Linked DNA regions of Homo sapiens: all the other regions are linked to region 3. Evidence: promoter capture Hi-C in 16 types of primary human blood cells and fetal thymus (Javierre and others, 2016). All regions are on one chromosome and are shown on one strand. Each heading gives the region's core, a stretch centred on a gene start or on the middle of the fragment in contact. The rest is flanking DNA. Distances are from core to core; before and after follow the strand shown. Region 1 overlaps BRWD1 (bromodomain and WD repeat domain containing 1). Region 2 overlaps BRWD1 (bromodomain and WD repeat domain containing 1). Region 3 holds the start of LCA5L (lebercilin LCA5 like). Region 4 overlaps BRWD1 (bromodomain and WD repeat domain containing 1).

Evidence for each region. Contacts are between HindIII fragments. The CHiCAGO score rates a contact against its expected background, and 5 or more counts as called.
Region 1: a contact is called between a fragment that was not itself captured here and the fragment with the promoter of LCA5L in region 3, in 1 of 17 cell types (naive CD8 T cells). The highest score is 5.1, in naive CD8 T cells.
Region 2: a fragment that was not itself captured here is called in contact with the fragment with the promoter of LCA5L in region 3 in 2 of 17 cell types (non-activated CD4 T cells and total CD4 T cells); the score reaches 5.2 in non-activated CD4 T cells.
Region 4: a contact is called between a fragment that was not itself captured here and the fragment with the promoter of LCA5L in region 3, in 4 of 17 cell types (non-activated CD4 T cells, naive CD8 T cells, activated CD4 T cells and 1 more). The highest score is 6.1, in non-activated CD4 T cells.

Annotation. Positions count from the first base shown.
Region 1 is chr21:39,273,848-39,280,547 of GRCh38, forward strand. It overlaps BRWD1 (bromodomain and WD repeat domain containing 1), which reads right to left. Exons shown (of 41, transcript NM_033656.4): 9 at 6,301-6,401; 10 at 4,896-4,966; 11 at 3,404-3,504; 12 at 2,326-2,366; 13 at 527-625. Among named protein-coding and RNA genes, the nearest start is that of BRWD1, 36 kb to the right of the region's middle. The HindIII fragment of the contact is 4,684 bases long and covers 2,796-6,700 here.
Region 2 is chr21:39,226,972-39,233,529 of GRCh38, forward strand. BRWD1 (bromodomain and WD repeat domain containing 1) reads right to left here. Exons shown (of 41, transcript NM_033656.4): 24 at 5,402-5,527; 25 at 5,206-5,313; 26 at 2,341-2,465; 27 at 1,529-1,611. Among named protein-coding and RNA genes, the nearest start is that of PSMG1, 47 kb to the left of the region's middle. The HindIII fragment of the contact is 4,038 bases long and covers 1-3,646 here.
Region 3 is chr21:39,444,447-39,450,834 of GRCh38, forward strand. It overlaps LCA5L (lebercilin LCA5 like), which reads right to left and starts at 1,332. Exons shown (of 11, transcript NM_152505.4): 1 at 1,279-1,332. The region is part of intron 8 of GET1-SH3BGR (GET1-SH3BGR readthrough); the gene reads left to right. It overlaps MIR6508 (microRNA 6508), which reads left to right and starts at 2,564; the gene lies at 2,564-2,623. It also overlaps a transcript of SH3BGR not described here. RefSeq lists a silencer at 1,243-1,502. The HindIII fragment of the contact is 3,319 bases long and covers 1-2,426 here.
Region 4 is chr21:39,204,734-39,212,094 of GRCh38, forward strand. It overlaps BRWD1 (bromodomain and WD repeat domain containing 1), which reads right to left. Exons shown (of 41, transcript NM_033656.4): 35 at 6,053-6,196; 36 at 5,262-5,414; 37 at 1,375-1,541. Among named protein-coding and RNA genes, the nearest start is that of PSMG1, 25 kb to the left of the region's middle. The HindIII fragment of the contact is 2,102 bases long and covers 1,354-3,455 here.

The DNA.
Region 1 (6,700 bases), core at 3,888-6,387, 170 kb before region 3:
AAAATCAGGAAACAAACTCTAAAGTAAAATCTATGACTTTTATTTTTAGAGAGTCTCGCTCTGTCACCCAGGCTGGAGCTCAATTTTCTTTTTTAACCTTAATAATAAAGTATGTTTGCTTACCCTATTTCCCAGCCTTGGCTCTAAGCTACTTTTAAATTTTTTCAAAAATCCTATCCACAGAAAAGTATAATTTCCACTCTTAACGTACTTGAGTTAATTTTATCTTTTTTACTTGTAGAAGCTTTTAAATGCAACATCTAAGAAGGAGGTCAATGCTTTGAACCATAGAAAAAGTACATGTTATTCTTTGCTATACAACGTAAGGATAAATTTACCTGGATGTCTCTGTTCACCTGATATGCAGTACGCAGCTATTCACTTATACCACAGCTCTTCGTAATAGAAGGTAGCTATAATCCCCTCAACAAAATAACCACTGAGAGACACAGAGAGCGAGAGAGAGAGAGAGAGAGAGACAGATCGAACACCTATGATGCACCTACTTCTAACAATCTCAACTTACCCTGAGATTCTGGTAGCCATATCCAATAAAATGCTCCTCCATTCTAACTGCTCAAATCTCCAAATCCGTGCTGTTCCATCTCTGCTACCACTTAGGAACCTTAAAACATTCAGAACAGGATCTTACTATATTCACACACTTTCCAACAAGGGCTACAATTAAAATCACATGCAAAAAAAGAATGTAATGAAGCTGTCCTAACAACAGGACAATCCACAGGTGTTAATTCAAAAGACAAGGTATTTAGAGCGTATCTGGATGGGAAAAAAAATTTGGTTTGCTATGATTTGCCCGGCCCTATGAAATAAAACACACCTCAAACTCAATCAATAGCTTTTCAAACAGATTAAGTTTTGAAAATACAATGTATAAGAATGCTGAGAAGAGGCAACCTGCAGTGGCTCATGTCTGTAATCCCAGCACTTTGGGAGGCCAAGGTGGGTGGATCACAAGGTCAGGAGTTCGAGATCAGTCTGACCAACATGGTGAAACCCCGTCTCTACTAAAAATACAAAAATTAGCCAGGCGTGGTGGCACATGCCTGTAATCGCAGCTACTCAGGAGGCTAAGACAGGAGAATCGCTTGAACCCAGGAGGGGGAGGTTGCAGTGCAGTGAGCCGAGGCTGCACCACTGCACTCCAGCCTAGGCAACAGAGCTAGACTCCGTCTCAAAAAAAAATAATTAAATAAGAATGCCAAGAAGAAAAAAAAAACAGAAAAAAGTTTTGAAGTATAGGAAAATAAGAGCAATAGCTCCATTTTAAACATCTTACTTGTTAATTCAAATTAATTCATGTTGGACACTGTGTAAAAATAAATCAATCTATTAACAAATTAAGTTCTCAACAATTAGTTTAGCAAAGGGACCTGACACACAATGGAGGCAAAGAAGGAGTATATGATTTAAGTAATAATTTCTTTGCAGGATATATCACGGTGGTTTCTTAGAAAAGTTTTTTTTAACTACCCAAACAAGAAATTTAATGATCCTTACACATAATTTTTTCAGTAAATCAGACATCTAGCCAAAGAAAAACTACTTTTGGTCGCTAGAAGCTGGCAGAAACTACAATTCTAAAAACTTACATTTCATGTGTTCTTCCCCCAACCCCTGCCCTAGACACTTTTCATTCAATTAATACATTTACTAATAAATACCTGCAATATACAAAGTGACAGTTAATTATATATTATTTCAAAATTTCTGAGTAGATTTCAGATGTTCTGACTACAGAAAAATGCTCAGTATGTGAAGTGGCAGAGATGTTTATTGGCTTGATTTAATCATCCCACAATGTAAATATATATTAAAACACCACAGTGTACTTACTCCATAAACATAGACAATTATTAGTCAACTAAAAATAAAAAATAATGGCTGAGCAAGGTGGCTCACGCCTGTAATCCCAGCACTTTAGGAGGGCGAGGCAGGCAGATCACCTGAAGTCGGGAGTTCGAGACCAGACTGACCAACATGGAGGAACCCCGTCTCTACTAAAAATACAAAGTTAGCCGGGCACAGTGGCAGGCGCCTGTAATCCCAGCTACTCAGGAGGCTGAGGTAGAAGATTAACTTGAACCCAAGAGGTGGAGGTTGCAGTGAGCCGAGATTGTGCCACTGCACTCCAGCCTGGGCAACGAGAGCGAAACTCCATCTCAAAAAATAAATAAATAAATAAATAATCATAATAATATAAAGGGAAAAAATACATACAAAATGACAGGTTAGCTATACTAACATGTAGCACATTATATTTGCCTAATAACACACACACACACATACAAAACACACACTTACCGATCACCATTGTTACAAAATTGGATACTATCTACTTTATCCTAAAGGGGGGAAAAGGACAAATACAAAAATGATCATCTACATGGTCTGTGAATTTGAAAAAATGAAGTTTTAATGCTAGAAGCCTATTTGCTTTAACAAGCAAAATTTGCACTTGTGTTGCTTAGCCCTGTCATTCAACATGTTTTATAATTTTAAGTGAAGACTAACTACAAACCTAAGACTACTAAAATACAGCTTTCATTTCAAAGAAAGGCACATCTAACAGGAAAAAAAGCCTTGCTTCTAAACTTAAAGCAGTATTTATAATTACATCTGTTTAAGATGACTTATATGGAAGTGAAATGTGTGGAAAGTGCTCAAAATATAGGCTTTAAAGTAGCTAAAAATAAGGCATTTTCAATTGTTGTTTTAAGTTATTTAAATCTGTATCTATCAAATAACCTCTGGATGTGGACTGCCTTCCCAAAAGCTTCAAATAAAAGAAAAGATGGCCCAACCCTGACCAGTACTTCAGAACACTGACAGTTTTCTATCTTACTATGCATTATTAAAATCACATTCTTATTTCATGGGCTTGGTTAGATAAACAGGCTCACTTAAAGTTAACCCACCCAGATCAACTGTCATAATCAAGATTTTGAACATAAAGCTAAAATAACCACTGTAAAATATTAGGCCTCTCAAGTGCTAATCTGAGTTGCCAGTGACATACCTCCCCTTTAAATATAATTGCTTGTATGCTTAAATTAAAATTAGAATAGAATTAACAAAAACTATATTGTACCTAGACATTTTCATTTTTATAAATATACAAACATCTCTAACAATATTTTAACTGTCAAATAGAATTCAGCAAAAATTTAAGATAACATTCACAAGCAATGACTTATCTCAGAAATGCAACTATGATTTAATATTTTAAAACTTAATACCATCAAAAAGTTATAAATGACAGTTCATTTGTTCAACAGAAAAAAAATTAAAAATAAAAGTAGAGCCAATAACAATGCCCCTTAGCAATAACAGGAATAGTATTAACAATTAATCTAAAGGATTTTAAAACGTGGATGCTTACAGTGTGGCTTTCAAGTTCTGCGATTTTTTCGGGTGCTTCAAAACCCAAAAAATACATTCTGATTACATGATCAGTACTACCTGTGGCTAAAAACATACCACCTGAAATAAAAATGGTAAGGTTTAAACATCCAGTTTATAACAAATACCTGAACAAATCAAATTTCCATATTAAAATATAAAAAAGAAAGATCATTTACCCTAAAACTAAGTTTATCTCAACAGTTACATTTTCTGACTCACTATATAGAGGTTATAAAGCTGAACTTGTAGCTTTAAAAAACAAAATTAATTCAATCTGGAAACATTCACAATCTCCTCCTGTTTTTTTTGAGACAGAATCTCACTCTGTCGCCCAGTCTGGAGCCCAATGGTGTGATCTCGGCTCACTGCAACTTCTACCTCCCAGGTTCAAGTAATTCTACTGCCTCAGCCTGCTGAGTAGCTGGGATTACAGGAGCACACCAGCATGCCCAGCTAATTTTTTGTATTTTTAGTAGAGATGGGGGTCTCACCATGTTGGTCAGGATGGTCTCGAACTCCTGACCTCAGGTGATCCACCCGCCTCAGCCTCCTAAAGTGTTGGGATTACAGGCGTGAGCCAGCTGGTGGGGCGGGGAACATGGTCTCAGTCTGTCGCCCAGGCTGGAGTGCAGTGGTGTGACCATGGCTCACTGCAGCCTCAACCTCCTGGACACAAGCAATACTCCCACCTAGTCTCCTGAGTAGCTGGGACTACAGGTGTGCACCATGCCCAGATAATTTTTGTTTTGTTTTTTTTTAGAGATGGGTTCTCCCTATGTTGCCAGGGCTGGGCTCGAATTCCTGGGCTGAAGCAATCCTCCCATCTCGGCCTCCCAAAGGACTGGGATTACAGGCATTGAGTCACTGTGCCTGGCCTCCCCATCTGTATTATTAAGGGTGGCAATATAATGCCAATTAAGCACCAGCGCTCTAAAAATATTTTTAAGAAAAGAAGTTCTGCTTTCTAAACAATTCTACATACCTAACCCTAGCTTGTTCAAGTTTTCAGATTTTATGAGGGAAAAGTCTTTGACCTATCCGAAAAAAGAGAAAGGTTACCACACAAGTTCACTGTACAAAAACTGAAAAAGAATAATTTCATCAAGATATTATGTGTGGGAAATAAATTTAAACTATCAAACATACACAGTTTAGCCTATTCAAAGAAAATCACAAATTTAGATTATCATACACATAGTACTGGCATAGGAATCACTTGTGTGGACACCTCAAGCCTCCCTTTTACCAGCCATCTCTTATATCACTGATTACTACCAGAAATCAGAGAAAGGCAGACTGGAGGACTGGAAGAACAAGGCTAACAAAATAAACATCATAAATTGAACCTAATGAAATAAACACCAGAAGTCATTTACCATGTAGCTAATAAAAGTTCTTAGCAACCAAGTGGTCATTTAATAGATGTTTAAAAAAAAAAAACTAAGAAAAAAATGTGAAGAAGTTCTTACCAACACTAAAAGAAGAACAAAGCATTTGAACGCCTGGCCTAGGCTTTTCAGTGAACTTCAGGGGACGTGGGCTTTAAAAGAAGAAGATGCTGCTTTAAAATAGATTATTTTACCACATTAACACAGCTTAAAATATTAGTTTTAATCTAGCATATTTAAATATTATAATTTTTTAAGAGACAGGGTCTCGCCATGTTGCCCACACTAGACACAAACTCTTGGGCTCAAGGGACCCTCCAGCCTCAGCCTCCCTAGTGGCTGGGGACCACAGGCACACAACACCCAGCTATAATCTTATTTCTATAATACCTTATTGTATATCAAATATTTCCACAGATTTCCATGTATTTTTACAAAATATAAAAAGATCAAATTAATCATATTTCCTTTAACCCAATACACCCAAAATATCAACATGTAATCCAAATCAATAAAATTATAAGATACTTTCATATTAAGTCTTTGAAATTTTCCAGTGTGTATTTGAGACTCAAAATACATCTCAATTTGACAACTCAATTTTTAACAAAAATATTTTATCTATATTTGGATTTCCCAAAACTCATTGAAAATTTCACATACTCGTTATTCAAGATATGCTTAATTTTCTAACAGGCCAGGCGTGGTGGCTCACGCCTGTGATCCCAGTACTTTGGGAGGCCAAGGCGGGTGGATCACCTGAGATCAGGAGTTTGAGACTAGCCTGGCCAACCTGGTGAAACTCCATCTCTACTAAAAATACAAAAATTAGCTGGACGTGGTGGCGGGCACCTGTAATCCCAGCTACTCAGGAGGCTGAGGCAGGAGAATCACTTGAACCCAGGAGGCAGAGGCTGCAGTGAGCCGAGATCACGCCATCACACTCCAGCCTGGGCAACAGAGTGAGACTCCATCTCAAAAAAAAAAAAAAAAAAGAAAAAAAAAAAGAAAACGAAAACAAAAGGAAAAAAAATGTTTTAATACATTAATCAATTGTAAGTTTTAAATTTAAATTATCAATTCAGTTCCTCAATTGCACTAGCCACATTTAAAGTGCTCAACGATCATATATGGCTAGTGACTACTGTATTAGACAGCACAGGTATACAATACAGGTCTTATGACTCTCAAATGTTCCTGCCTGAATTTCCAATTATATACCTATTATTTTAAATGCCTTACTTTGTCTTTGCAAAAATGTGCTAAGATAGAAAAGCTATGCTTCTTTTACAAATCCTGCTATCTACATAATTATAAATAGGAAATAGTCAATATGGCACATATGCTGTATATAATAAAAATTAAGTTCAAAGGTTAAAAAAAAGCAACAATACACAATTTCTCATAACAATAAAACTTCATTTCATTAGATTAAACTGTAACTACATTAAAAAACAAAACCTGTTACATAATTAAAGCCACTTACCTAAATTTTAAGGATTCTAAATCCCATTGCCAAAAGCAAACTGTCCCATCAGCACCAGTGGAAACCATGTATCTTTGAGAGCCTTTGGCCATCGGGCTAAACTAAAAAGTAAAACATATACAATTCAGTTTCCAGAACTTCTACTTAAGTTACAGTTTAATAGTCTTGCAAACTTAACTTCAATTGACAGTTTCAGGAAATAAACACATGAAATCCAAAATATAGGTAATACTACCGTAGTGAAAAAATCATAACCTCTCCACATTCATTTATATGTAATATGATCTCAATAAGCCTATTTTCAGAATGAACAAGACTGGCCAGAAAAACTTTAACAAGGTGGAGATCTAGTCCTACTAGATATTAAAGCATATCACAGAGTGTTAATAATTAAAATGAT
Region 2 (6,558 bases), core at 378-2,877, 220 kb before region 3:
AAAATTAGCTGCACATGGTGCAGCTTCCAGAATTTACATGTTTGTATGCACTATAATTAAGAGTCCCACAGCCAAAAAGGAGGCTGAGGTGGGAGGATCGCTTGAGCCCAGGAAGTTGAGGCTGCAGTGAGCTCTGATTGCACCACTGCCCTTCAGCCCGGGCAACAGAGCAAGACCTTGTGTCCAAAAAAAGAAGGAAAGAAAGAAAGAAACTGCAGTAACTAGAAAGATCAATGTCTTAACATCATTTATGAATGTGTACACCAGATGACACAGCCTGGGTAAAACTTAGTATTTCTAACAAAAATCCAAGAACTGATAAAAGAACGAACCATCCTACTTCTAACTCAATACACAAGCTCCCTGGATAGCATTACACACTGAACATATATTTGTACACCTGTGAAAACAGGTACTACAGTTACTATTAACAGTTGCTATTACTACCCAGCCTAATGACAGTCATTCAATCATCAATTATATCCTGAGATTAATAATCTACACAACTCTGAATAAGTGAGCCCTCCTTAAATGATCATCACAAAAATCACATTCGAGTAATTTAGTACCTACATTGAGGTACTAAAATTACTCCAATGTGTAATTTTACTCGAATGTGTAAAATTACATTGAGGTAATTTTAATTTTTTAATTTTTCTGCCCACCTATACATTACATGGTTATAAAGCAAAGTGTATATGAATTTTTTATTTCTTAACAAAACAGTGTCAAGTCTTCCCATTTAAGTCTACGTTGTTATGATATCAAGGGTAAAATAATTGGGTATACCAGAACATTTTCAGTGTGAAATCTGAAATTACTCTTCAACCTTCTGATCATTTTAGATCCTAGTATAATTGTGTAAATTATGCCAATGTTACATCAAAGATAATTATATACAATATAGTACAGGGAAGTCTAAAAGGAAGTAAGTCTACCCTAGCCTATAGTCAAGGAGTGAAAATAATCTTTTCCAAACGTCATGAACCAAAAGAACAGAAGAAAAGTTGCTCGTCTAAAAAAGTCTACATAATAGGGCTGGGCACGGTGGCTCACACCTCTAATCCCAGCAGTTTGGGAGGCAGAGGTGAGTGGATCATGAGGTCAGGAGTTCGAGTCCAGCCTGACCAACATGGTGAAACTCTGTCTCTACTAAAAATACAAAAATTAGCCGGGCGTAGTGGCGCACACCTGTAATCCTAGCTACTCAGGAGGCTGAGGCAAGAGAATCGCTTGAACTTTGGAGGCAGAGGTTGCAGTGAGCTGAGATCACACCATTGCACTCCAGCCTGGGTGACCTAGGGAGAAAATGCGTGCCATGCCCACCGTCCCCCGGCCCCTACCAAGAAAGTCTGCATAATCAGTAAGTACCAAGCCGTAAGCAAAATATATTTATAGGTCACTTATATCTCTTCTGGAATTTACATGTTTGTATATACTATAATTAAGAGTCCCACAGCCAAAAAGGTAGACCAATAAAACAGATTAATTTTTAAGGGTATATAAAACTTAGTAAGGATAGACTTACAAGACTGCCAATTCCTCTGTCTTGCTTCATCATAAAATTGACGCAATACAAGAAAGTCAATAACATCTGGCATATCATGATATCTAGACAAAAATTTAAAAAATTGTTAAACTCTCTACATAGCAGGTTATATAGTCTAAAAGCAGCACTGTCCAAAAGAAACATGAGATCTACGAATGTAATTTTTAATTTTCAACCAGCTATATTTTAAAAGGTAAAACAGTAAACTTCATAGCATATTTTAAATATATCCAAAATATTATTTCAATATGTTATCAAAACAAAATAGAGATCTGACATATTTTTTCTTCATAACTACTCTTCAAAATGCAGTGTGTACATTCACAACACATTCATTTCTTTAAAAAAAAATGTTTATGCCTCATACTCTGCCAAGTCACATATTAAGACATTCAATCAAACCATCCATATTTCAAGTGAGCAGTAGCCACATGTGACTAGTGGTAACCTTATTAGACAGCACAGGTGTAGGAAATTATTTATTCTGAATTTTTTCAAAAACAAAGGGCAGAAAAAATTTGGCCCGTATGTCAGAATTCCCCACCCACATAAGCAGCATGAAAACCATATAAAACAGACTGCCCACACTTAACTATAACTGTGACATGCCTACTATGACTTCAGGGTCAGGGATGGGTTTCCTAGCCATCAGAAGCTCGAGCCACATCTTAGGCTATCCACAGTGCTCTACCAGTTACCCTGGAGTTAAATGGGAAGGGCATGCTAATCATTCAATCAGCAAAATGGCAAATTTAAATTTAAGTAATTCCATTTTAAAAAATAATACATACCTAATAGAGAAAGATTTGTCCATAAGTTTTCCAGTTGCTGGATCTATAAATGCTAGTTTTAGGCAACAGAGTGTAGGGGGCCCAACTTCATATCGTATTCCAACTATTTTAACCAATTCTTGATCCTTTAACAGACATATTTTTTAATGGTTAAAATAAAAGCAATTCCTTAATACTATAATTCTCCACATACTGTTATATTAAGTAAACTCATAATTTAGGCTTCCAAACCCGCAGACAAGTTTAATTAATACCATTAATTACATTCAATTTTGCTAAAGTTAATCTCCACATATTTAATACAGTTTCTAATACAAAGAACATCCTTTAGAAAATACATTACAAAAGTGTAAGATTGAAAACACAAATCTCGGATTAGCGCAATATCTAACGACAATCACTGTTAAAAATCTAACATATTTCCTTCTGGCTTTGTTTTGGAAACAGGATCTCACCATGTTGCCTAGGCTGGAGGGCAGTAGCACAATCATGGCTCACTGCAATCTCAAACTCCTGAGCTCAATCAATCCTCCCACATCAGCTTCCCGAGTACCTGGGACTGACTACAGGTACAACATGCCACCACACCAAGCTAATTTTTTATTATTTGTAGAGACAGGTCTCCCTATGTTGTCCAGACTAGTCTCGAACTCCTGGGCTCAAGTGATGCTCCCACAACAGCTTCCCAAAGTGCTGGGATTATAGGTGTGGCCTGCCACACCCAGTCAATGCACATTTTTATTTATATAGCTTTATATTATACAGTGAAAATGTGTAAGCATTCTACTTATTCATAAGTGTTCTTCAAAATCTTGATATTAAGTTTCTGCCTAATACATTCAGTAAGTAATATTTGTTGAGAATCTACCATATGCTATGACCTCTTCTAGGCAGTAGGGACAGGACGGTAAACAAGTGAAAGTCCCTACCTGGATGGAGTATCCATCAAATGGATTTGCCATAGTCAACCTTCCCCCCAGTGTCTGCTTCTCTGATACTAGGAATACAACAGATCATTCATCCACTTATTCACTGAACAAATGTTATTATTATAATGTACCAAACAAAGTGCTAAGCATAGTTTTCATTATTCACAGCAGTTATGTTCTATAGTCACCTAGAACACTGAAATAAAATACTAAATCAGTGCTATAGAGAATATATAGGGATAGGTTCCTGCAAAATTCTGGTCACAACACTGTAGTAAACCAGTGCATACGTAACTTGGTTTTATGCGTGTTTCCGTTTAAAGGTACCTTATTTAATATGTTGTTGATTTGCAAACATTTAACTGATACCTGAATGAAGCTTATCTAACATACCTTCTCCATAAGGCACATCTCAGCCTTCTAGCACTTAAGAACACTAGAGAGCATGTCAGCACTACGCTTAGGGGCCATTTTAAACAGCAAAGTCACCAGAAAAAGCACAAAAATGGAAAACATGTGGCACTGAATAGACCATGAAAAGGACACTTGTTTGCAGTGCGAGAGCTTAAAAAAAAAAAAAGGCAGAGCAACACCTTGTTCAACCTCAACTAGAAACATGCTCGTCAGGCAAGTCAAATTTTTCACCACCCTGAGCATGTCCAGAAATGACCAAAAGGCTCTGAGAGTACTGTTTGGGGGATTACAAATAAAGCAAGTACGCAGTTCACAAATACAGAATCCAAGAATAATGAGGATGGACTGTACTTAGGTACACAGTCCTAAGTTAAACAGACATAAATAAAACCGCCAATGTATATAAAGCCTAACTTATACAAGCAGAGCCATTAAGTTGAATATAAGTGTTAAAAACAGCTATATTTGTTAAAATAACTAGCATTTTCTTCATTTTCTAAGTTTTTAAAAGTATCAAAATCTGTAGAATAAAAATATAAAAAATAAAAAAACACGTGTACTACTACCCCACAGATCATCACCATTGACATTTTGATGTTGTTCTTTTGATTGGCTGCAAATGTTTTCAAAATTTTGCTACCATAACCAGAAATACCACTTCACACCCCATTTTTCCTATTAGTAATACACTGTGAAAATGTATCCATCATTCATTCAACAAATATTTTTCAACCTTCAAGTACAAGATGGGCTGTACATAGTAAGTGACTGTGTGAATGCACCATGATTTGGTTCATTCACTATTGTGGAATATCTGAATTTTTTTTTTCCAGCTTTGTTTCTGTCAACAGTGAGTGAACTACAATACTCATATATTTACAAGCATTTCTGCTTGTTTTCCAAATTACCAGAAGAGTAAAATCACAGAATTAAAAGTTCCAAATATTTTTCAGTTTCAACTACTATTAACAAAATATCCCCTAGAAAGCCTGGACCACTTCACACACCCCACCAGCAATCTGAATAACTGTTAACAAACCAACATCTTTGCCACTTGCTAAAATGTGGAATTCTTTCTTGAGCTAAAAACAAACGAAATCACAAAATTGGCTAAGTATTGAAAAGGAAAAATTATTATTTCCTTATTTTATTATCCATGAGGTTAAACCCTTCTTCCAGTTTTTATTTCTTCTTTTGAAAACTTGCATTTCTTCCTCTGAAAATCTGTCTTGGATACATAAACATTTTTAAGAGTGATAATATATATATTGCCAAGCTGCCTTTCTGAAACTCTAGGTTGTTGCATTTAACATTTTACACACCAATCAGCAACATACAAATTTTGCCCACTGACAAACAAGCCATTCCCACAGGATCTTAAGGTTTGGTTACAGCAGAAATGTTATCAAGTAGGAAAGAAAGTAATAAAATATGTTTCCAACAGGTTTTTAAATAGATTTGTAAGTAATTTAACTATGTATGTGCTAAAATGTTTAATGATTTAATAATGCCATCATCCTACCCTAAGATCCATTTTTCTCCATGGCTCCTTATTAGGGTTCAGTTCATAAATATTATTTCTTCTTACAGCCTCAATATAAGCTTCATGACCCTGTCGAAAATATATTACCTACAAAAGGGAAATATGCATTTAAAAATTAAGAGCAATATAAACTTTATGTTCCATATTCGTGTTTTTAAATTTGTATTACTCTCACCTCATCACCCATTTGAGGAACAAAAGGAGATTTTCTAAGTGTGGTGTCAGTAATCCAAACTGGAGGGTGAAATTCATATAAATGCTCCATATTTGCAAGCTCTGCTGGAGTCATCCTCCGCAAATTCTACCAAGGGGAAGAGAACAAAGTTTCTTAGATTAGAAAGGGGCAGCATGCACTGTCTGAATGAAAAATAAAAGAAACTTTCACCATTCAGAATGACTATTTTTGCCATGTCCATCTAATGATTAGTTTTCACACAGCATATATATTTAGTTCCTTTACACAGGAATATATCACTTAAAAAAGCATTGTAAATCTACCTAACATTTTCCTAGCATCATCTCCTAAATTTCTGATAGATTCTTCATGCTATTTTACATCCCATTTTAGGGGGCTAATACCCAGCCTAAATCCTCTTTTACCCATAGCCTGTTCTGCCAAGACTCCACTCTGAGTTTGGCCACAGGCTAATCATCACAAGGAGTCTCCTCTTGATTTTAGGTTGTAAGACCGGTGATTTCAAAATATGCCTACAAATTCCCCAATAGTTCTCTCCTTTTCAAGAAGTGGAAGTCTCCTCCTCTTAAGTGTGGACTACACTTAATGACTCACTTCTACCAAATATAATAAAGCCGATGAGACTATGTGCAACTTCTAAGACTAGGTCATAAATGGGGGCTTATCCCTGGCTACTGTTAAATCATTCACTCTGAGGAAAATCATAACTCAAGCAGCCAGCTTGAGTTGAAAATCAACACTCAAGCAGCCAGCTAAGGAGAGACCTGTGTGGCAAGGAACTGAGGCCAAAAGCCATATGAATAAGCTCGGAAAGAATATCATCCAACCCTCATCAAGTCCTCAGATGACTGCAGCCCCAGTCAACATGTTGTAACCTCATGAGCCAAAATCACCCAGTCAAATCAGCTCCCAGTTCCTGATCAACCAATACATGAAATATGCAACGTTTGCCATGTAAACACCTAAATTTTAGGGTGGTTTGTTATATACAGCAATAGATAAATACAAAGACTTAACATCTTTAAACAATGACTACCTGCTTGAAATCAGCACAGTGTACACAAATAAATAGGGATGTTATTAAATGAAGAGACAAGTATGAAGACAGACATGTAAAATGAAAATGGTAAACGTAG
Region 3 (6,388 bases), core at 82-2,581:
CATACTGAAAATACTGCACTTTTACCTATGGAAGTTGTAATTTATATAAGGAAATTGTAATTTATATAATCCTTTAAAAAACTTACTCATACGAAATAACAGAGAACGGGGAAATACCATTAAGACTGTCATGCTCAAGTGGGGGAGGGGCAGACTCAGGGAAACCAATTAGGAAGCAAGTAAAATAATCCACGCACCAGATGATGGGGGCCTGGACCAAGGTGGTGACAGTGGCGGTTGAGAGAAATGGTAGAATTGTGAATCTATTCTGGGTGCATTTTGAAGGCAGTGCTGACAGACTGAAGGTGAGGAAGAGAAAAACAGGACTCAAACAGGATGCAAGACTCGGGCAACTGGAGGATGGAATTTCCAGCAACTATGATGGATTAAGATTGTGGGAGGACAGGCTTGGCTTGGGGAATTATTGAGCGCTATCTTGGACGAGCTGTGTTTGAGATGCCGTAGACATCCAAGTAGGGATGTGGCAGGCAGCTAAATGCAGGGATCTGGTGTTCAGGGGAGGGGCGAGGGCTGGGAATGCACACTTGGGGCTCACTGGAATTCAGATAGGCTCTGAGTACAGGCGACTGGATGAGTTCATCTAGGGATTGAGTGTAGACAGAAAAAAGGCTCAAGCTCACATTCAGCCGTGAAAACTGGTCTCTGAAAAAAGTTAACCGTTGGCTTAAGTGTGGCAACGAAACGTTAACACGCTGAGGGGAGGGTGTGGATAAAGAGCCCCGAGGCTGGGTGAGTGGGGGACAAACACAGACAGAGAAGACATTTCAAAAGATTTAGATTCCTACGAGATAGGGAGATGCCAGCGCTAAGGTTAGAAAGAAAAACTAATCCAAAGCAAAACAGCAAGTAAGCAGAGGCAAAATCGGAGGTCAGATAGAAGATTCAGATAGAAAAACCCCAAAGTTCCCTCGGTGGGGCGGCGGTGAGATCGGCCTCCGCCCCCTCGCCAGACCCAGGCGCGGCCCCGGGAGCGCTAGGTCACCTCGGCCCAGGCCGTCCCCCTGCCCAGCGGGCCTGAGAGTACGTGTGTCGCCGGGGCGCCCGGTCACTGCCGAGCCGGGGTAGCTGTTCCTTGGCAAACTGTGCCGCGAGGAGGAAACGGCGGGGCGCCAGCGAGGCAGGCAGGGGCGAGGACTGAGTGACCGGCGATACTGGAAGCCCAGAAAGAGCGTAGCAGGAGGGTCCGGAAGGGCCCAGAGCTGGGGCTGTAACAGGGTAACCGGCTGAGGGGGACGACGGCAGCAGCGGGGCCGTTACCTGCTCCGCGCTGTTCCCACGACTGCGCCAACGCCGCAGCGCCGGCGCGTCCCCATGGAAACCCGCGCGCGGGGCCTCCTGGGAAGCGCCGGCCTGCGGGGGCTGGGCGCGCGCATGCGCACTCGGGCAGCAGGAGCCGCGGCGGGGAGGGGCGTCTTGGGCCTGGAGGTCAGTGTGGCCTCGCGTTTGTCTTCGGTGACGGGAAGTGAGTTTCTTGTGTAGACGTCTGTAAACGATCCTCCTGCCGTCCCTGTTCGGCGCCCGGGACCCTGCCTTCCCGCGTGGCCGCACCGAGACGAGGGAGCCTGTCACGCGCTCTGGCGCTCTCCTGACCTCTTAAGGCTCTGTCAGTCTTAGGTAACTTGAGTCAGTAGGTGGGTGTAGACGCCTGGTCAATTCCTGGGAAGCACAGTTCCCCTATTAACCCCTTGTCATAAAGACGATTTTTTTTTTTTTTTTGTAAAACAAAATCTGATGACAAAACAATGCATGTTTGGCATAGAGAATTTAGAAATGTACAGGCAAGTCCAAAGCAAAAGTCAAAATCACCTAGATGATGGAGTTATAGATGTTTTTTAATGACAGCATAGGAATTTGGCATAATTTAGGAAGACTTACATTGTTTCCTTTTATTTATTTACTTTTTTTCCTGCATCAAAGCCATGTTGAATATCCTTGCAGATGAATCTTTGAGGTCACCCCTGACTGTTTCCTTAGGATAAATTCCTACAAGCGAGGTTGCAGGGCCAAAGCATATGCTCACTTTGAGGCTTTCTAAAGGTAGAGGGAAACTGCCTTCCAGTAAGTGTCCCGATACTTGGCCCGCATTGGAAATTCTCTTTTTTCTTAAAATTTTTTTGCCCATTTTATTGTCAAAAATTGGCATCTTTAATTGTATTCACTTCCTTTTTAGTAGGAAGAATAGACTTTTTCCCATATCTTGAGTGCCATTTGTCCTTATTGTGTGATTTGCATTTTCCTGTCTTTTGTCCATTTTAAAACTTGACATTCATCTTTGTAAAAATGGGTTTTGTAAGGACTTTTGATGCTTGAAAACTTGGCTTGTGATATACGTTGCAAATATTTCCTCAATTTGTCAGTTACCTTTAATTTTGTTTACAGTGTATTTTGGTATTTGTGTAGAGTCAAGCTTATTACATTTCTCTATAGTTTCTGCATTTGGTTTTTATATAAAAGGAGAAACGGGTGTTTTTTTTCAAATTGACTTTAATCCTACTTTGGTAGAAGTGGGTTAGGACAAGCTTTCTCTCCATATCACCATTTCTTCCTCTAGAAATGCATGACCCACCCTGAGTTTTGGTGGGCCATGCATTTCTAGAACTCCTTAGGTAGGGAATTATCCGTATAAGATGGGTGCCGGTTGTTTTTGCTGGTGGTGGTGGGCGGGGCAACATCTCCAGGTAGGCAAACATTAGACAAATGTCACTCTAGACTTGACATTATGGAAAGATGGGCTGATGCTTGGTGGGTGGTGGTGGCCCCATGACAGTAACGAGAGCGGAGTTTTGCCATTGCGGGAGCATCCAACCCTGGAGCTCATGACTGGAGGAATTGAAAGGTAGAGTTTCCTGAGAATGGTTTCCTCCTCTTTTCTACCAGCTTTTCCCAGTCTGTAGACATGATAAGTCACTGCAAATCTGCCCTTGAATCTTTCTTTGCTTTCGCTTTTGCTTTTTTTTTTTTTTTTTTTTGAGACGTATCACTCTATCGCTCAGGCTGGAATGCAGTGGCGCCATCCCAGCTCACCACAACCTCCGCTTCCTGGGTTCAGGTGATTCTCCTGCATCAGCCTCCTGAGTAGCTGGGATTACAGGTGTGAGTCACAACACCCGGCTAATTCTTTTTGTATTTTTAGTAGAGATGGGGTTTTGCGATGTTGGCTAGGCTGGCCTTGAACTCCTGACCTCAAGTGATCTGCCCGCCTCGGCCTCCCAAAATGTTGGGATTTCAGGCATAAGCCACCGTGCCTGGCCTTTGCTTTTGCTTTCGAAGGGGTGTTCTTTTCTGTGTACACAATGGAAGGAGAAGAGCCATGGCCTTTCACTATTCTGGGGCCATCTCCATCATGCCACATAAAAAGCATAGCCTTTATTTCTCTATATTAGGTTCCTAGGTTCCTAGGGATGTCATAACAGACTACCACGAACTTAGGGGCTTAGAACAATAGAACTTTATCTTCTCACATTTCTGGAGGTCAGAAGTATGAAACCAAGTTGTCTGAAAGTCCATGTTTCCTCTGAAGGCTCTTAGGGAGAATTTTTTGAGTCTTCCAGCTTATGGGGACTCCTGCTATTCCTTGGCTTGTGGCAGCACCACTCCAATTTCTGCTTCCATCTTCACAGGGTGTTCTTCTCTGTGTCTCCCTGTCTTGTCTTCTTATAAGGACAACCAGTCATTGGACTTAGGGCCCACCCTAAATCCAGGATGATTTAATCACAAGACCCCCTCAACTGATTACATCTGTAAAGACTCTATTTCCAAATAAGGTTACATGCTGAGGTTTGGCTGAACATGAATTTTGGTGAACAATATTCAACCCACTACAGTTATTATGGTAATCATTTCCATCATTCTACATAATAAAGACGTGTCTTTATTTGTCATTTTAAGTTATCTGTAAAGTTATGTAAATCAAAACATATCATCTGGTATCATTTATCATGAGATCATCTGGGGGTCTCTATGAAGTTTGTAGCCCAGTACCTCATGTCTTTAAATCAAAATTAATCAAATCAAAAAGTGATGTTATTTGACTTGTTAAAATATACTCCAACAGACGGACAAAATGAACTCCTGTTTCCTAAAATGAGATGCACCAAAAACAGAATGTCCTACTCGGGAGGCTGAGGCAGGAGATGAATGTGGGAGGTGGAGGTTGCAATGAGCTGAGATCAAGCCACTGCACTCCAGCCTGGTGACAGAAACAAACAAAAAACAAACAACAAAACAAAACAAAACCTCCAGAATGTCACAGCCAGAAGGATGAGGGGTTAGTTACGTATTTTTGCATTATTAACTGCTATTAAGTAAGCAGAAACCAGCTTCGAAAAAGCATAGCCAACACAACTTCAGCTGGAAAATTTCCAACTGACCCCGATAGACTGCCTGATGCCAGCCAATGGAAACATTCCCTCCCTCAGTATGCGCCCCCACCCCCAAACGCCTTGCAGACCTACTACAACTCCAGTTGGACAAAGGACTGGTCTTATAAACATTCTTTATTGATAAACAGCTGCAGACCTCCAGCCAATTTTGGCCAGCTTATAGAAATTGCACATAAAATGTCTTTGTGCCCTATAGTTCACCTGTTGATATAAAGAGCCAAATTCCATCCCATTTTAATGCTAGAACTCCACCCCAAGGTGAACATGGAATGTATGATACATATATGTTTACCCACTGCACACATGCCTGAATTTCCTCATAAATATTAGTAGATCCTCTGCAACCTTGCTCAGTATGTATGTAAGGCTGACTCTGTAAGACACAGATACCAGCTCCTTCCTCCCTTCTGCAGCATGTGCATTTTTGGTTTTTTCTGTAAGCTGCATTCCCCAATCTGCAGGTTGTATCTCCCCCTAAAAATAAAATCTCCTTTCCTTCCTCCGTGGATCTCCTGGTCTTTGTGAACAGACATAAACAGCAAGCACTGGAGATGTTGAATGGTTGGCTGCTTGCATCTTCACTAAATTATACACCTTCTTTCTGAAGTGGATTTTGTAAGTCAGGGGTTCATTGAGCTTTATTTTAAGATGCATTTGGAATGTTCGCTATTCCTGTTAATTATGTTGAAGCTCGTTTGTGTCATTAGTGTAATAATACATTAGAAGGAATCTTTCAGCTGGAGTTTTCAGATTTTTAATTTGTACATTTTTATGGTCATTTCGAAAAGAATAAACTTAAAAAAATTCATAGTGAAAAGGGGGCACTAGGAATTTGAGGGTAGCATCTCAGGAGCTTCTCATGTGGTGTGGAGAGGAATGGGTGAGGCTTAAGTCTTGGATATGCCATTTCCTATTCCCATCATCTCTAGTTCTGTGTCCTCATGGTGAGTGGGCATAATAATGGAACACAGTTTTAGGGTTCTTATACAGGTTAAGGGAGTGGCTTATGCAAAGCACCTAGAGCAGATCTGGCACATGGACAACACCTACAAATTGTTAGCTGTTATTTGAGTAGGAAATTAATTTCTCCCCAGGGTTTGCAGATGGAGGAGGTGTCATTATTGAGGGCAGTTTTCACCTGATATAATCAAGAGATGCGTATTCTCTAGAGCACCTGAGAATCCAGCTATAGTTTATGCTACTAACTTACAAAGTCATTAGAAAATATGCCCCCACTTTCTTCAAGTAATATTTGGAGAAATATGGCATGCTTATGTGGCAGACTTTAAGGTGTGAAAATATATAATTGTATGAAAAAATAATACGTACTGTAGAAATTTTGAAAATGCAGAAAAGAAAAACTGATCTGTAATCCTTGGTGTGCTTTAAAATAAAATTTATAATTCTACTGACTTAAATTTGGGGAACCATTAATCATCTTCATCAAGGACCTTATTTTTGGAGCAGCTAACTTTGCATGTTGAAGCCAAAAGTTAAATGTTGGTAGTCACCTCAATCATTCATTGTGATGTAGGGGCATTTAAGCGATATTCCAGGAACTGGGATATTCCGGGGACTGGGATGTCTTTTCTCGTTGCAGGCACCTACCTGAGGGGGTGGGAAACATGCCTCTGGGGCTCTGGGACTCAGGTGAAGAGGGAGTACAGAAGCCTGGGAGATTCCTCTCTGCTTCGGAACGTCGGTGCCACCCAATCCATGATGGGCAGCAGGGGATTTTAAAAAGGGAGCCGGAGAACAGAGAGAGAGAGAGACAGTAAGAGACTCAGTTATCTAAGCTAAATATCCCCCAAGTGCTTCTTGAAAAACTAGCCCTTTGTCCCTAATGCCCTTGATCTTGATTTTGAAATCTATCAGAAGAATTTGCATAACTGGCATTTGGGCTTCTTTGCTAGATTTTGTATTCCTTTAATTTAATTTGTTTGTTTGTTTGATTTGGTTTTGTTTTAGAGATAAGGTCTTGTTCT
Region 4 (7,361 bases), core at 1,155-3,654, 240 kb before region 3:
ACAAAACTGTTCCACCTCAGATCATCAGGCATTAGATCCTCATAAGGAGCACACAACCTGGATCCCTCGCATGCAGTTACAAAAAGGTTCCTGCTCCTATGAAAATCGAATGCCCCCACGGATCTGACAGCAGACAGAACTCAGGTGGTAATGCTTGTTTGCCAGCCAATCACATCCTACTGTGTGGCCCAGTCTACACAGGGAGCAGGTGCTGGGGACTCCGACTCTATATTAAAGAGCCAATTCTTATGCAAAATACAAATGACACTTTAAATAATCCTTAATAAGATTTGAAAAAATCTATAATTTTACATATTTATAGAATTACAAACCAATACAACAGCTCTATATTCACAGAAATGCTTTCAAGCTATAAAACCCATGACTAGTCTTTTCAGAATGTACAGTACTCTAAAGATTAAATAACACAGTCTTAAATTTTTAAAAAAATGCATACAGGCTGGGCGCAGTGGCTCACGCCTGTAATCCCAACATATTGGGAGGCCAAGGTGGAAGGATCTTGATCCCAGGAGTTCAAGACCAGCGTGGGCACCATAGCAAGACCCCATCTATACAAAAAATAATTTTTAAAAATTAGCCAGGCTTGGTGACACACCCCTGTTATCCCAACTACTCGGGAAGCTGAGGTGAGAGGGACTGCTTGAGACCAGAAAGTTGCAGCTGCAGTGGTCATGATCATATCACTAGACCCCAGCCTGGGCAACATAGTGAAACCCTGTCTTAAAAAATAAATAGGGCTGAGCGCGGTGGCTCACACCTGCAATCCTAGCACTTTAGGAGGCTGAGGCAGGCGGATTGCCTGAGCTCAGGAGTTCGAGACCAGCCTGGGCAACACGGTGAAACCCTGTCTCTACTAAAATACAAAAAATTAGCCAGGCATGGCAGCATGTACCTGTAGTCCCAACTACTCAGGAGGCTGAGGCAGGAGAACTGCTTGACCCGGGAGGCAGAGGTTGCAGTCAGCCAAGATCATGCCACTGCACTCCAACCTAGGTAACAGAGAGAGACTCCGTCTCCAAAAATAAATAAAAAATAAATAAATAGGCTGGGCGTGGTGGCTCACACCTGTAATCCCAACATTGTGGGAGGCCAAGGTGGGTGGATCACCTGCGGTCAGGAGTTCGAGACCAGCGTGGCCAACATGGTGAAACCCTGTCTCTTCTAAACATACAAAAATTAGCCAGATGTGATGGTGTGCGCCTGTAGTCCCAGCTACTTGGGAGGCTGAGGCAGGAAAATCACTTGAACCCGGGAGGCAGAGATCATGCCACTGCACTCCAGCCTGGGTGACACAGTGAGACTCTCTCCAAAATTAAATAAATAAATAAAGCAAGCTTGCCATAACCAGTTTACCTGATACTTTTGTTAGGCTGACTGTCACCTTTACAATTTTGCCGTTGCTTGAACCTCTGGCTTCTTCGAAGTTTTTCATTGAATTTTTGACCAATTTTAAAATCAGAAGAGATTTTCTTCATTTTTTCTTCAAATAAGGCAGATAATCTCAAGGTCATACTATAAATCTGCAAGGATATAAAAACAAAGTAGAATTACAAAATAGCCTTAAAAGTACTTAAGAAATAATTGTAATCATTGAGATCCCTTGCAATGTATTATATCACTGCTTATAGGTAATGGCTGTCACCCACTTCTTCTGTTTCCAACCCCCTTCCCTTAATGACATCTGGAAGTAAGAAGTATCAAATACATACCTCTCAGATGATAAGAAAGTAGTTTGAAGTCAAGCATCTATATTCAGGACTTGTGTCTATATGTCAGTGAATCTCAACTGTTTTTGCCTATTCTAACATCTGTATGTACAAACCCCAAAATATACCCTTCTCCCAAAGTTAGATGGGAAGTTGAATGGTTTTAAGGCTGCTATTTAGGCTACAAAAGCGCTGTCTTTCTTTGGGGCAAGGGAACAAAAGCACTTTTATATACCCATCTCTGTCTGCAATCTGTTTTCAATGCCACCTAATTCTAAAAATGAAACAAAAATACCTTGCATCCAGTAGCAGAAAGTATAACCTAGAACGTTAATGCATATGAAAGATTTGTTTTAACAATGTTTACAATTAAATAACATCAAATCTTAAATACTTTTGGATACAGCTATGTATGTACAGAACTACTCTATCCTCCTCCACGACTTTTCCTGAAAATAAGTGCAAAAGTCTAATGCTCAAAACTTAAATATAATTCTTGTGCATGGCAGTGGATGGCGAAGACACTCCAATACCAGAAAACTTTTTTAAAAAGTATGTGAGATATACGAATTTCTTACATGCTTCTCATATACATATATATATGCTCACAAATGAATGTGAAATTTGTTATACTTAATCTGAAATGATCTTTGACAGTTATTTTCAGTATTTCATATATATAAATTTTATTCTGCCAGGCACAGTGGCTCATGCCTATAATCCCAGTACTTTGGGAGGCCGAGGCAGGCAGATCACTTGAGGTCAAGGGTTCAAGACTAGCTTGGCCAATATGGTGAAACCCCATCTCTACTAAAAATACAATAATTAGCCGGGCATGGTGGCGCAAGCCTGTAGTCCCAGCTACCCGGGAGGCTGAAGCAGGCAAATTGCTCAGGAGTTGGAGGTTGCAGTGAGCCAAGATCTCACCACTGCTCTCCAGCCTGGGCAACAGAGTGAGACAGGCTCAAAAAAAAAAAAGAAAAAAAAGAAAACACACACACACACACACACACACACACACACAAACAAAACTCCAAAAACAACAAGTGTTGGCAAGGATGTGAACAAACTGTGGCTTTTATACACTGCCAGCGGGAATGTAAAAAGGTGCAGCCAATATGGAAAACAGTGTAGTGGTTCCTGGAAAAGGTAAACATGAATTATCCCATGACCCAGCAATTCTACTCTTAGGTCTATACCCAAGGGAATTGAGCAGGGTTTCTGAGAGATACGTGTATTCCAAAATTTGCTGCAGCATTACTCGTAATGGTCAAGAAATAGAAACAGCCGAGCTGGCCATCGATAGATGAATGAATAAGATATGGTATAACCACACACTTTAATATTATTCAGCCATAAAATGGAATAAAGTTCTGATACATGCTACAACATGCATAAGCCTTTAAGGCATTACACTAAGTGAAATAAATAAGCTGGACACAAAGGACAAATATGGTAAGATCTCAATTTTTATATGAAATTATCTAGGACAGGCAAATTCAGACACCGAAAGTTAGAGGTTTCCAAGGACTGGGGGTGAGGGGAAATTACTGCTTGATGGTTACAGAGCTTCTGTGTGGAATGATGAAAAGGTTTTAGAAAGATTATAAACGATGCCACTGAATTGTACTCATAAAAATGGCTAAAATGGCAAATGTTATGTTATATATAGTTAACCATAGTTTTGAACAACTGACAATGTACTATACCAAAAACCACTGAACTATAAGCTTTCAATGGTGAACTGTATGGTATGTGTCCTCAAACATGTATTTGAGGGGCGCAGGGAAGACTTGAATGAAATTTATTTTGTCGCTGAAAAAAAACAGTCTTACAAATGGTGACTTTGACAAAAATCCAAGCTTGGAAACGTTAGCCTTGAACGTTAAACTGATCCAGCAAGCAGTGTGGATCCTGAATCCAAGAAAGAGTTCTCAAATTGAGACCAGAGGCAGTAATGCAGGAGGAGTCTAATATTAAGTAATGACAGGGAAATGCAGTTAAAGCAAAACAGTTAAATGTCACTGATTGTAGACACCAAAAAATGTTGTAAGATCAAACAAGTATTTTACTTTAAATATGACTTTTTACAATTATTCAACACATGAGCTACCTGGAGTCTTGCTCTGTTGCCCAGGCTAGAGTGCAGTGGCATGATCTCAGCTCACTGCAACCTCTGCCTCCCAGGTTCAAGTGGCTCTCATGCCTCATTTCAAGCGGTTCTCATGCCTCGTGCCTATAGGTGGGATTACAGGCAAGCGCCAACACGGGCTAATTTTTTTATCTCTAGTAGAGAAGGGGGCTCACCATGTTGACCAGGCTGGTCTCGAACTCCTGACCTCAAGTGATCTGCCTACCTTGGCCTCCCAAATTCCAGGGATTACAGGCCTCATCAAGTTTTGAAAAGTTACCCAATGTGTAACATGTTAACAAAACTTTAGTAACCTTCTACTGAAACTGCATGCCCCAAAGAGTTAAAGAAGTCAATTAACAAAAATTCTTAAGTTTACAAAATGACAAAAAAAAAAAAAGAAAGAAAGAAACCCAACCTACTATAAAACACTAAAACTCCCTCTGCTTATGAGATAAGAAGAACTGGCTGAAACTGGTTAAAACCAGTATGGCCAAGTGGAGTCTGCAAAGAATGAGCCTGCTGACATCAGAGCCTGAATTTCCAGCATGCTTCACACTAACTTCCCCCAAATTTGCACACGCAACCCATCAGATAACATAAAGAAATAACTATACATGCCCAAAGACTTTCCAGACCTCTCCTTTCCTTCCATTAATCACCTGCTAATCTCAGAATCCATGCCCTGAACCTTTTCTTTAAAAAAAAATAAAAAATAAAAATACTGCTTTAAAGCCAGCACCGGAGTCAGATTTGAAATTCACTCCTGTCTCCTTAGGAGTCAACTTTCAATATAAAGCTTATTCTCAAAAACCCAGTGTCACCACTTCACTTGAGTAGGCTAGAAAAAAAAAAAAAAGAAAAAGAAAAACCCTGTGTCATAATATTAGCTTCTAACACATCAAGCAAAGAGCCTCCACTGGCTCTGTAACATTATTTGTGGTCTTAATCTGATAGCTCATGTGTTCCTTCTTCAAATCCAAATGTTCTTATGCTGTCAGCAGTCTCACAATCAGATTTTCCTTTTTACTTTTAATATTCTTACAGTCTCGATCTATGTTTCCAATCCACTTAAGATCCTTATACATACAAAACACAGAGACTCTTACTCTGTGTATCAAATTTGTTCACTTTCTATTGATGCCTACTCCCATTAATCCCCACTTGCTTATAAAATTTGAGGAGATTATGATAAACATCAACTGATGAAAGGCAAAAACTGAAGCTATATGAGCAGTAGCAGAAGCTCTTTTCTTTATAATAGTCTTAATTTATTCACTTATCTTTAATGTTCTAACCTCTATTACACAGTGGAAAATTACACTGGAAAAAATTACTATTACATTGGAAAATTATCTACACAGATCAGGCAGTTTTTTTCAATAAACCACATAAAAAATTACCTTTGATCTTTTGTTTGGTGTATACGCTTTTGCATTGCTAAATATCAGCCGGATGTCTTTGCAAAACTCCAAAGGGCTGTCATAATTTCCCGCATCTAGAGTTTCCCTTACTGTTCCAAAATCCATTGGGGTATCTATAATATCTCTGTAGTCCTAGGTTTTAAACACAATATTTAATTCATAGATTCATTTCTTGCTTTTAGAAATGTAAATGCATCAGATCTCTAAAAAATGTGAAATGATGGAAGAGAGGAAAAGGTTAGAGGACTCTTAAAATTCATTAGTAATGTTTAAAAAGAGGTATAAAAACAAAGAAAAGATAGAAATATACCAAAATGTTAATGTCTATTTATTGTTAGTGACACATGGGATGGTTTTATTTCCTGCTGTATGTACTCCAAGCATCCTACAGTCACTCTGTGCTGTTATAATCCAACTTTTTTTATAAAGTCATCTTTCAATTTCCCTTTTTAAAGAGTGCAAACAGACACGTTTATCCAATTCACAGTTCTCCTAGTGCTGGGCCTACTTAGATAGAAATCTAAGTAGATCCATCCCACTGTTATGTAATACTGATTATCTAAGTCTAAATTCTTAAATGAGCTCACAAGGGTGTCTATAAATTGAAGAAAACTATGTAAAAACAATACTTCTACCACTAACTTAGTGATAGGAGCAAAAAAGTTAACATAAAGCCTGGGTATCTTTCTCTTTAAAGTTTAATAACTCTACCCCAGTTTCCTCACTGCAAAACAAGAAAAGCCCCAAACATTTAAACAATGGAAACTTACTGGATATTCAACCAAATCAACAGGTTGTCTAAATGGTTCAGAATCTTCACACTGAAAAATTAAGTTCACTAGTTCCTTACACTGTTTCTTCCAGTTGCTTTCAACATAGTTCGTAGCTCTGATGCTTTTTTTCCCATCATGGACCTAAAAATACATTCACAGTCTTAAGAAAAATCACACTATTGGTGTAAGACTGTGGTAAAAATGTAACTGATCTACTGTCTTCTATAAAAATACAATAATGTCATATATGTTGCTCTCAACACATTTTTCCAGAAATGAAATTTTTAAACTATGCATGAAACGTAAGTTATTTTCATATAACTTAACCAATTTCAGAAATATTACAAAGTTAGCTATGAAAAGCATACTCTAACAAGAGCACATTATCTAGTGAAAGGCTATTCCATGACCTCTCACCTCCCAGGTTTATAATATTTGTTTTCGCAGAATATGAAGCACATCTGATAATATGATAGGCAGAATAATGGCCCCACCAAAGATGTCCACATCATAATCCTCATAACCTATGACTATGTTGCCTTACATGAGAAAAGGTATTTTGCATTAAGGGTATAGACCTTGAGATGAAAGATTATCTTGAATTGATTGCTTGGACCCAGTATAGCCACAAAAGTTATTATAAGAGGGAGGCAGAAAGGTCAGAGTCAGAGAGAGACTGAAAAATGCTACATTGTTGGCTTGAAAGATGGAACAAGGTGACCTGGAGCCAAGGTGAGGACACCCACTAGAAGCTGGAAAATGCACATAACTCTCCCTGGAGCTTCTGGCCACACCAAGACCATGATTCTGACCTAGAGACCCATGAAAACTTCTAATCTACAGAACTATCAGGTAATACATTTTTATTATTTAAGCAACTAAATTTGTCATTTGCTGCAGCAGACATAGCAAATAAATACAAATACTAAACACTTGGGAGTCTAGAAATAAAATTAAACGAAAATGACTAATCAAATTAGAGTATTTTAGGTATAACTTTTCAGTGTTCTGGAAGGCAAGCACATGGTATAAATTAATATTTCATAAAAAGCTTAAATTTAAGGAGCATTTGGAGGAAATTTAAAATGATCTGGGCTAAAATGTCTTAAGCATTTTCATATTAATAACCTTTAATTTTAATTACTCTATATTTGAACTTCAAAGCCTGCCGATACTCCATTATGATTACCCACTTTCATAAACTTAGTTCCATAGACCCTTCTCCTTACCCCTCAACCTCATCATCCCAACATATCTCCATTGTTAAAAAAAGTTCAGTCACCAAATCCTAGTTAGTTTTCCCTAA